3 separate regions of the Homo sapiens genome follow, and all the other regions are linked to region 3. The links are contacts of gene promoters, found by promoter capture Hi-C in human tissues and cell types (Jung and others, 2019). All regions are on one chromosome and are shown on one strand. Each heading gives the region's core, a stretch centred on a gene start or on the middle of the fragment in contact. The rest is flanking DNA. Distances are from core to core; before and after follow the strand shown.

The links. Contacts are between HindIII fragments. The study calls those that stand out against the background at their distance.
Region 1: a fragment that was not itself captured here is called in contact with the fragment with the promoter of PDE3A in region 3 in 2 of the 25 tissues and cell types used here (H1 embryonic stem cells and heart right ventricle).
Region 2: a contact is called between a fragment that was not itself captured here and the fragment with the promoter of PDE3A in region 3, in 1 of the 25 tissues and cell types used here (aorta).

Annotation. Positions count from the first base shown.
Region 1 is chr12:19,705,707-19,709,007 of GRCh38, forward strand. No RefSeq gene overlaps it. Among named protein-coding and RNA genes, the nearest start is that of AEBP2, 270 kb to the left of the region's middle. The HindIII fragment of the contact is 4,327 bases long and covers 1-3,301 here.
Region 2 is chr12:19,652,464-19,655,761 of GRCh38, forward strand. All of the region lies in intron 5 of LOC101928387 (a long non-coding RNA gene), which reads left to right. Among named protein-coding and RNA genes, the nearest start is that of AEBP2, 210 kb to the left of the region's middle. The HindIII fragment of the contact is 3,329 bases long and covers 1-2,963 here.
Region 3 is chr12:20,366,954-20,370,137 of GRCh38, forward strand. PDE3A (phosphodiesterase 3A) reads left to right here and starts at 1,584. Exons shown (of 16, transcript NM_000921.5): 1 at 1,584-3,184. The coding sequence starts at 2,332. PDE3A-AS1 (PDE3A antisense RNA 1) reads right to left here. Exons shown (of 2, transcript NR_186033.1): 1 at 2,888-3,184. RefSeq lists a silencer at 2,622-2,916. The HindIII fragment of the contact is 7,833 bases long and covers 1-3,184 here.

The sequences.
Region 1 (3,301 bases), core at 181-2,680, 660 kb before region 3:
AGCCATATGCAGAAGATTGAAACTGGACTCCTTTCTTGTATACCATATACAAAAATCGACTTGAGATTTGTTAAAGACTTAATGTAAAATCTAAAACTAAAAATCCTAGAAGAAAACTTAGGAAATACCATTCTGGACACAGATCCTGGCAAAGATTTCATGATGAAGAGATGAAGATGGTAAAAATAATTACAACAAAAACAAAAATTGACAAGTGGGACCTAACAAACCAAAGTACTTCTGCACAGCAAAACCAAAACAAAAACAAACAAAACCTATCAACAGAATAAACAGACAACCTACGGAATGGGAGAAAATATTTGGAAACTACACATTCAACAAAGGTTAAAATCCAGAATCTATAAGAAACTTAAACAAATTTGCAAGCAAAAAACAACCCTGTTGAAAAGTAGACAAAGACATGAACAGACACTTTTCAAAAGAAGACATACATGCGGTCAACAAGCATGTGAAAAAACCCTCAACATCACTAATCATTAGAAAAATGCAAATCAAAACCACAATGAGATACTGTCACATACCAGTGAGAATGGCTGTTATTAAAAAGTGAAAAAATAACAGATGCTGGTGAGGTTGTAGAGAAAAGGGAATGCTTATACACTGCTGGTGGGAAAGTAAATTATTAGTAGTTCACTTATTGTAGAAAGCAGTTAAGCCTTTCTCAAAGAGCTTAAAAGGGTATATACCCAGTAATGGATATAGTACACAGGCATATATACACATATGCACAATGGAATACTATACAGCCATAAAACAGAATGAGATCATGTCCTTTGTAGCAATATAGATGGATTTGGAGGCCATTATCCAAAGTGAACTAATGTGGGAACAGAAAAGGAAATACCACATGTTCTCAAGTATAAGTGGGAGCTGGAGGCCATTATCGTAAGTGAACTCATGCAGGAACAGAAAACCAAATACTACATGTTCTCATTTATAAGTGGGAGCTAAATATTGAGTACACATGGACACAGAGATGGGAACAACAGACACCAGGGCCTACCTGAGGGTGAAAAATGGGAGGAGGGTGATGATAGAAAAAAAAATTTACCTGTCAGGTACTGTGCTTATTACCTGGGTGATGAAATCTGTATACCAAATAATCTGTATACCAAACCTCCTTGACAGCCAATTTACCTATATAACAAACTTGCACATGTACCCATAAAGATTTTCTTTATGTGCGCCAAGGAGACTCTGGCTTTCACGCTTAGTTTATTTTTCCCACTAAACCACAAATTTGACAAAACTGAGGTATAATTCATATGTCACAAACCCACCCTTTATAGTATGCAATTCTGTGGTTTAGTATATTCACAAAGTTGTATAACCATCATGACTATTTCCAAAATATTTTCATTACCCCAGAAAGAAATCCTGAGCCCATTAGCAATCAGTAATTCTCTCCTCCTCCCAGTCTCTGGAAACCACTAATCTAGTTTTGTCTCTATGTGTTTGCCTATTCTAGACATTCCATATACATGTATTCATAAAATACGTGGTCTTTTATGTTTGGCTTCTTTCACTGAGGATAATGATTTCAAGCTTCATCCATGAACCATGTATTAGTGTGTCCAGAGTTGGTTCCTTCTGGTGGGTTCTTGGTCTCGCTGACTTCAAGAATGAAGCTGCAGACCTTTGCGGTGATTGTCACAGCTCTTAAAGGTGGCTTGAATCCAAAGAATGAGCAGCAGTAGGATTTATTGTGAAGAGCGAAAGAACAAAGCTTCCACAGTGTGGAAGGGGACCCAAGCAGGTTGCCGCTGCTGGCTGGGGTGGCCAGCTTTTATTCCTTTATTTGTCCCCACCCACGTCCTACTGATTGGTCCATTTTACAGAGAGCTGATTGGTCCATTTACAATCCTCTAGCTAGACGCAGAGTGCTGATTGGTGCGTTTTTACAGAGTGCTGATTGGTGCATTTACAATCCTTTAGCTAGACACAGAGTGCTGATAGGTGCATTTAAAATCCTCCAGCTAGACAGAAAAGTTCTCCAAGTCCGCACTCGACCCAGGAAGTCCAGCTGGCTTCTCTCATTTGAATATACTTATTCTCTCAAATGAATATATTCTGTCAAATGAATATACTTATTCATTTTTTATGATTGAATAATATTATACTTTATGGACATACCACATTTTATTCATCAGTTGATGGATGTTTGGGTTGTTTCCACCTTTTGGCTGTGATGGATAATGTTATGAACAGTGATGTGCAAGTTTTGTTTTTGTTTTTGTTTTGGTGAACGTGTTTTCAGTTCTCTTGGGCATATACATAGGAGCGGAATTGCTGGATCATATGGTAACTCCATGTTTGACTTTTTGTGGAACTGCTAGAATGTTTTCTAAAGTGATTGCATGACTTTATATTCCCAACAGTAATATAAGAGCATTCCAACCTTTCTACGTAATGGCCAACACTTGTTATAGTCTGTTTTCTGACCATAGCCATCCTAGTGGATGTGAAGTAGTATTACATCAGAGTTTCGATTTGCATTTCCCTAATGACTAATGATGAGTAACATGTGCTTATTGTCTATTTATATATCTTCCTCAGAGAAATGTCTATTCAAGTCATTTGCTCATATTTTATTTGGGTTGTCGTTTTGTTGTTGAGTCGTAGACATTCTTTGGATATTAAACCTTTGGCAGATATTTCATTTGCAAATACTTTCTCTCATTCTGTGAATTGTCCTTTTGCTCTCTTGATAATGTGCTTTGATGCACAAATGTTTTTAATTTTAATCAAGTTTAATTTATCTATTTTTCTTTTGTTATGCTTTTGGGTCCATATTTAAGAAACCATTGCCAAATCCAAGGTTATGAATGTTTACCTCTATGTTTTCTTTTAAGGTTTTTAAAGTTTTAGCTCTTAAACTTAAGTATTTGATCCATTTTGAGTTAATTTTTGTATATGGTGTAGGGGATCTACTTTATTCTTTTGCATGAGGCTTTCCAGTTGTTCCAACGCCACTTCTTGAGGACACAAATTTTGCCCCATTGAATGGACTTGGCACCATTGCCAAAAATCAATAGGCTAGAAGTGGGTTTATTTCTGGACCCCATTGATCTGTATATCTGTCTTGTACTACATTGTCCTGATTACTTTATCTTTGTAGTAAGTTTTGAAATTAAGAAGTGTAAGTCCTCTTTGTTTCACATTTGGATTTTTTTCCCCCACCGATTTAAGAAAATAGTGCGGTAATACCAATTAATGTGAGATCTGCTCTCTTAAATTTTTAAGTGTACAAAACAATATTGTTAATTTTAGGCACAATGTT
Region 2 (3,298 bases), core at 49-2,548, 710 kb before region 3:
TCTCCACGACGTGCTATTTGAAGAGAAAATCCTTGGGAATTAGTCTCTCATTCTTTTCTCATGAGAAGCACTCCCCTCTCTGAATTTTTGGTGAATTAGATTTCTCTCTTAGCTATACCATGAAGGGCCCTGGCTTTTACAGCTACTTTCTTGTTTCTAGCTTGAACTCTGTGGCAAAATTTAAGTCAGTGTGTCAGAAGTCATTTAGACCAAGGATTTTGTTTTACAGATGTGAAAACCAAGGCCTCTGATGACAAGAAGAGCTATTGCCTTATTTAAGTTTCTCCTGACCTAACTACCTAGTGTTTTGGAGGAAATTGCCTTAGCCACTGTCAGCCCCCATCTTTCTGACACAAGGCCTGGCTCAGTTGCTAGTTTGGCCTAACATGATTGCTTCCCCTCAACAGCTCTAGAAATACAATTGTGAAATTGAAATTACTGTATTTGCAGGCTGACTCTGGCCAGAGAAACTGACCTGTGGATGAGTTGAAAATAAGCTTATAACCATGCTCGTTTTATAGTTAATTAACTTAGGGCACAGGTATTGAGAACCCAACATGTGCCAGGGCCTCTTGGGTACTGGAAAAATGCCTGGAGTGAGGCTGGGAGGGAAGCTTCCTAAAAGGTTGAGGAGGACTTTATTTGGGAAGAAACTGAGGGCAGGGTTCTGGGGCCTGGACTGTGTGAGAGTTTGAGGACTCTAAGGAAAGGAGAATGTTATGGAGTTCATCTTTGATTTTTTTTTTTTTAACCAGTAACTTATCATTTTTTTCCACAGTCAGAAACGTGACTGAAACATTTCTTCCTCTTAAGAGGCATTAAGAGAAAAGGATAGATTTCCTGTTTCTTTTGCAATTTTCCTCTTTAAGAAACAGAAAGAAAAAAAGATCTTATGTCCATGCTCCTGGAAGTCACCAATAAATAATACGGGCCAGGGCTTTTTCTTTTCAGCAGTGGGCTGATTAAATCCTTATACTTGTTCTGGGTTATATGTCTGAAATTTGTGTTCCTTTTGTTCTGAGGAGTACAAAATAATCAATTCCTCTAATGGAGATTACCAGCTTGATTAATAGATAATCCTAATGTGTTCTTTGTAAAATACATTATAAATGATCTTTAAAGTTGAAGGAAAGAAGATTGGGCCATGTAGAAATTTGGTTCTCAACAGAACCTCTTCTTGATTGAAGAAATATAAGCAAAGAGTTTTATATATTTCGGTAAGGGTAGGTAGTCTATGCATTTTCTGTTCTGAGTATTACAAAAGGAAAAGGGAATAAAAGCTTCTGCATATAGCAGAGATAAACTCCAAAAGCAGGAGACCAGTGAAGCCCTGGATCACTGCACTCCTCCAGCCTTCAAGGAGCATGAAGAGGGTCCACATAACAACAGAAGATGCTTCAGAACAAATTATGAGTCCATAAGAGATAAATTAGTGTCTTTATTCATTGCAAAGGAATGGTTATTATAAAAAAATCCCTGATGCTGTCTCTCAGACTGAACTTACGTATAGGCAGGAGAACACATGTAATTTATTGACTGATAAAACTGTAGGTAAGAATACATATGACTTCTATAACTTGTATGAAAAATGAAACTACACTTAAATGTAGGAGCAGTTTATATTGTTTGATATTTAACTGGTTGAGTGGTTAACATATAATATTTAAAAAAATCTTCTTTTAGTAGGCAGTTTAATGCTTATGGTCTAATTTTTATTTGAAGACATTTTGCTGCAGCAGAAACATAGCTGTGATTCATATACCTACTCTTGATATTAGCCTGGCCGTTTGTCCTGTGACGCTTAAGCTAGTTACCACCATTTATCTGGTAACTGTTTCCAGAATTGAAGAGATGATGCCTGGAAGGAGATAAACTTCAGGAGTTCACCTTTAAGCCTAAAAAGTACCAGCAAAATGCAATGACAGGATAAAAAGTTTGTCATAAATATTTTCACAAGATGGAAGACAAGAAAGCAAAGAGCAGCATAGAAAGAATGAAGGAATAAATAAAAATAAGTGAAAATGCTGCATTTTCTCTCATGGGATAGATTTTTCAACAACTCCTGAACTATGACCTCTCAAGTTCTTTTGCAGTTCTGTTCTAAGAAGTAATGAAATACATTTAATATTCCTGTCTTTTCACAACATTAATTCATTCCTACTTTAGCCTTAAGAATTTTAGTAGAATCTATTGTTTATTCATGCGTATAAATATTGTGGAAAAATATCTTTAGATGAGTTAGTATATATGAGACACTTAGGCCAGGATTTGGCACATGTCTGTACTTCATAAGTGTTTGTTATTGTTATTTTTAACAAGAGTAAAAAAAGATCTTATGACGCATCTAATATCATTTAAGCTGTTTATGGTTACTCCTTGGAATGCCTTCTGGTCAAAAGTTTCTGCAGCCCAGCACGACATTAATTTGAATGCATTGAGCCGGTTTCCCAGAGGGCTGGATGACATTTTTGACTTTTTAGGATTTTTGAGACTTTTTCTAATGACTAAGGTCAAAATCTCCCTTTCCTTGTCTCTTGAGTTTTAGGGGGCAACCAGAGATGTTTTGAAGGAAACCAACCATTAGATGTCACTTTCTTCTCACTGCTTTTGGTTTTAGGACCTATGACCTGGGTTTAAGCCTTTTGATTTTCTTCTTTTTTTTGAATGTCTATAAATAGTCTCTATGTCAAAGCTAAACGGGAAATTTAATTTTAGATTAGTAGATAAGAGACAATACTCAACTCCTTGGAATGATGAAATTTTGGACCTGTTTTAAATTGGCCTGACTCAATGTCCCTAGTTGACTAAATTTGGAAATGTAGTATTTGTGCTTTTCTTTCTCACTGAAGTTAGTGTGGCACTGTTTCTACACCAGACACTTAGGCCTGAGTGTATGAGTGTATCCTTATTCAGGTCAAAGCTAATGAGTTTTTTTTTTTTTTTCCTTAGCAATCACTGAATGAAAAACATATTCTTCAGATATCTGTTTAGAATTGCTTTTCCAGAAAACCTTTGTGATCTTTCTCCCCCAACAGAAGGGCTCAGAAACACATAACAGTTTGAAAAAGAGAAAAAATACTGCTGCTATGGTCTGAACATTTATGTCTGCTCCAAAATTCATGTTGAGACTTAATCCCCATTGTGGTGGTAGTAGGAGGGGTGCCTTTAGCAGGTGGTTAGGCCATGGGGGCTCTGCCCTTGTGAATGGATTAGTGTCTTGTAAAAGGACTAGAGGGAACTGGCTTAAGGTCTCCTTACTCCTCCTCCTTCTGCCATGTGAGGATGCCACTGCAAGAAC
Region 3 (3,184 bases), core at 334-2,833:
GTTTCCTTAATTATTAAACAGATGGTGCCCACTGCCATTGACTAGCTGCCCAACTCATACTCCTGTGTGGTAGCACAATTCTGGACATCTGACAGAGAGAAGCTATACCTTTATAGTATATCTGCCTTCTACTAGAACAGGCTGCTTCCCATGAAGCTGTTTAAAACTTAAGTCATCTTCTCCCCCTGTCCCCATAAATTAATTTTATCTCAAGGATCTCCTTTTGGCTTTTTTTATTGCTTCATGTCTACATACAAAATACAGTGGCATATTGAATCAATTATCTAAATGCTCTAGGCTGTAAATACACTTTAACCTGGAATGTCAAGATAATTAAGACAAAATTGGATTATTAAGATTATTATTAGTGAGGGCAAATGACATCTAAGATAGCCATGTTAAAAGTGGAGTATCATATTAAAAAGACAACTAGATCCCAGGGAACATCAATAGAGTTTAAGTCCATTGAACAGATACTGAATTCTTTTTCATAATCTGCCAAAAAAAGGTTAGCTTGAAAATTTTCTTTTAGTTTCTCAAATATCACACTGCTGCAGTACACGAACCTTTACTCATTAATAACTAAGGTCCTGATTTTTTTCATATGCTTTGCTCGAAGATGTAGTATTTTGCAGCCATAGACAGTCTTCTAAGATCTCTCCTAGTGTTAACCCACCTATCCTCACCTCTCCCTTGAGATTTTTCTTTATTTTTTGATGAACTATCTGGGCTTTTAAACTTTGTTAACCTTTTTTGAGGATACGGTCACTTAATCTCAATGTAATTTTACTTTCCACAGTCAAAAACTATTGTGTAATACTCATGCACTGGATTTAAATGACTGCTGCCTCTCCTTCCTTTCTTTTTATACTATTGTGGTCTAGGTAAGGCTGATTCTTCCATCATTTGAACCAACAGGCCAGGCTTGGGTTCTCATAAAGCAGACCTTCCAGCAGGAGCGACCAAAGGATGACACTGTCACCTGAAATTGGACTGCTGTTGTACCTGACTTGGGAACATCTTTGAATCAGACAGTAGAAGTGGCTGTCATTTTCAGGGACAGTAGAAAGTATGTTGGCTCTCATCTGCCAAGTAGGCAAACACAATCTTTTTTTTTTTTTTTTCCTTCCAACGTTCTAGGGAGCTCAGCCTCAGGGCTAGCCGCAGCCCCCCACACCCCGGGGCTGCGGTGGGCTGCGCGGTGGATCAGCCTCAGCAGCCCCTGCTCCAGCCTGTAGGGTGAACCGGCCGCTTTCCCAGCAAAGGAGCAATCGAGCTGAGGGTAGCGCCTCCTCCGCAGGAGGGGGCGGGAGCTCGGCTGAGAAAGCTTTCCTAGGGAGTTGCCTTAAAGAAAGAAAGCGGAATTGTCGATCACTCCAGTTGCCAGTTTTATACAATTTTAAGCAGTCGTCGCCACTCGTTTCCCCTTTGCAAAACTGCAAATCACCACCAACCTTGCATCAAATAGAAGTGGGGAGGGAAAAAAAAAGCAAATCTCCTTCTCCCTTCTCACCCTCCCTTTCTTCTCACCCTCCCTTCCTCTCTTACTCGCTCCTTCTCCCTCCCTCCCTTCTGCGGCTGCCGCTAGTCTCTCGGTCTGGCTCTCTCTCCGACGGGACTTAGCAACTTCTTATTTCTCAGCCCCTTGTCCATTTTTTTTTTTCCATCCTTTGCCATGAATTGGATTGACAGAGGCGGGGGAGGCTTTGCTTTCTGCCCCAGGGAATGGCGATTCGCGTCCTGGGGCCGTGCCGGGGAGAATCGGCCGAGGAGAAAGAAAGAGTGATAGAAAAAGAGCTGCAGGAAGGAGGAGAAGGGAGACCTCCATCTGCCGCGGGCCCGGCGCGCTGCAGCGCAGCGCAGCGCCGAGCTGCGCCTCGGAATGGCCCGGAGCCCGCCCTGCGCCCCCGGCTCCTCCAGCGTCAGCGGCTCCTGCGCGCGGGATGCATTGGGCAATTTTTGAAATCCTGAAGTAGGAAGAGACCCCGGAGGATATAAGTCGGGGGTGGGGGTGGAGCAGAGAATCTGTGAAAGATATTCAAAGAGAGAAAAGGGGAATCCTGATCGTTTCTGCCCGTGCTTGTTTTCAACTTGAGCGTGCTAGCCTTTAACTTGAAGAAGTCTCATTGGAGCATCTAGCATTCTCCAGGAGTTATTCGAAAGCTGAAACTTTCAGTGGATTGTGGGCCTGGGGAGAAGAAGGATTCCGAGGGTGGAATTGGGAAGAGCGTGCGTGCGTGTGTGTGTGTGTGTGTGTGCGCGCGCGCGCGTGGGTCGGGGCGGGGGCGTCGGGGGGCCACTGGGAATTCAGTGAAGAGGGCACCCTATACCATGGCAGTGCCCGGCGACGCTGCACGAGTCAGGGACAAGCCCGTCCACAGTGGGGTGAGTCAAGCCCCCACGGCGGGCCGGGACTGCCACCATCGTGCGGACCCCGCATCGCCGCGGGACTCGGGCTGCCGTGGCTGCTGGGGAGACCTGGTGCTGCAGCCGCTCCGGAGCTCTCGGAAACTTTCCTCCGCGCTGTGCGCGGGCTCCCTGTCCTTTCTGCTGGCGCTGCTGGTGAGGCTGGTCCGCGGGGAGGTCGGCTGTGACCTGGAGCAGTGTAAGGAGGCGGCGGCGGCGGAGGAGGAGGAAGCAGCCCCGGGAGCAGAAGGGGGCGTCTTCCCGGGGCCTCGGGGAGGTGCTCCCGGGGGCGGTGCGCGGCTCAGCCCCTGGCTGCAGCCCTCGGCGCTGCTCTTCAGTCTCCTGTGTGCCTTCTTCTGGATGGGCTTGTACCTCCTGCGCGCCGGGGTGCGCCTGCCTCTGGCTGTCGCGCTGCTGGCCGCCTGCTGCGGGGGGGAAGCGCTCGTCCAGATTGGGCTGGGCGTCGGGGAGGATCACTTACTCTCACTCCCCGCCGCGGGGGTGGTGCTCAGCTGCTTGGCCGCCGCGACATGGCTGGTGCTGAGGCTGAGGCTGGGCGTCCTCATGATCGCCTTGACTAGCGCGGTCAGGACCGTGTCCCTCATTTCCTTAGAGAGGTTCAAGGTCGCCTGGAGACCTTACCTGGCGTACCTGGCCGGCGTGCTGGGGATCCTCTTGGCCAGGTACGTGGAACAAATCTTGCCGCAGTCCGCGGAGGCGGCTCCAAGGGAGCATTTGGGGTCCCAGCTGATTGCTGGGACCAAGGAAGATATCCCGG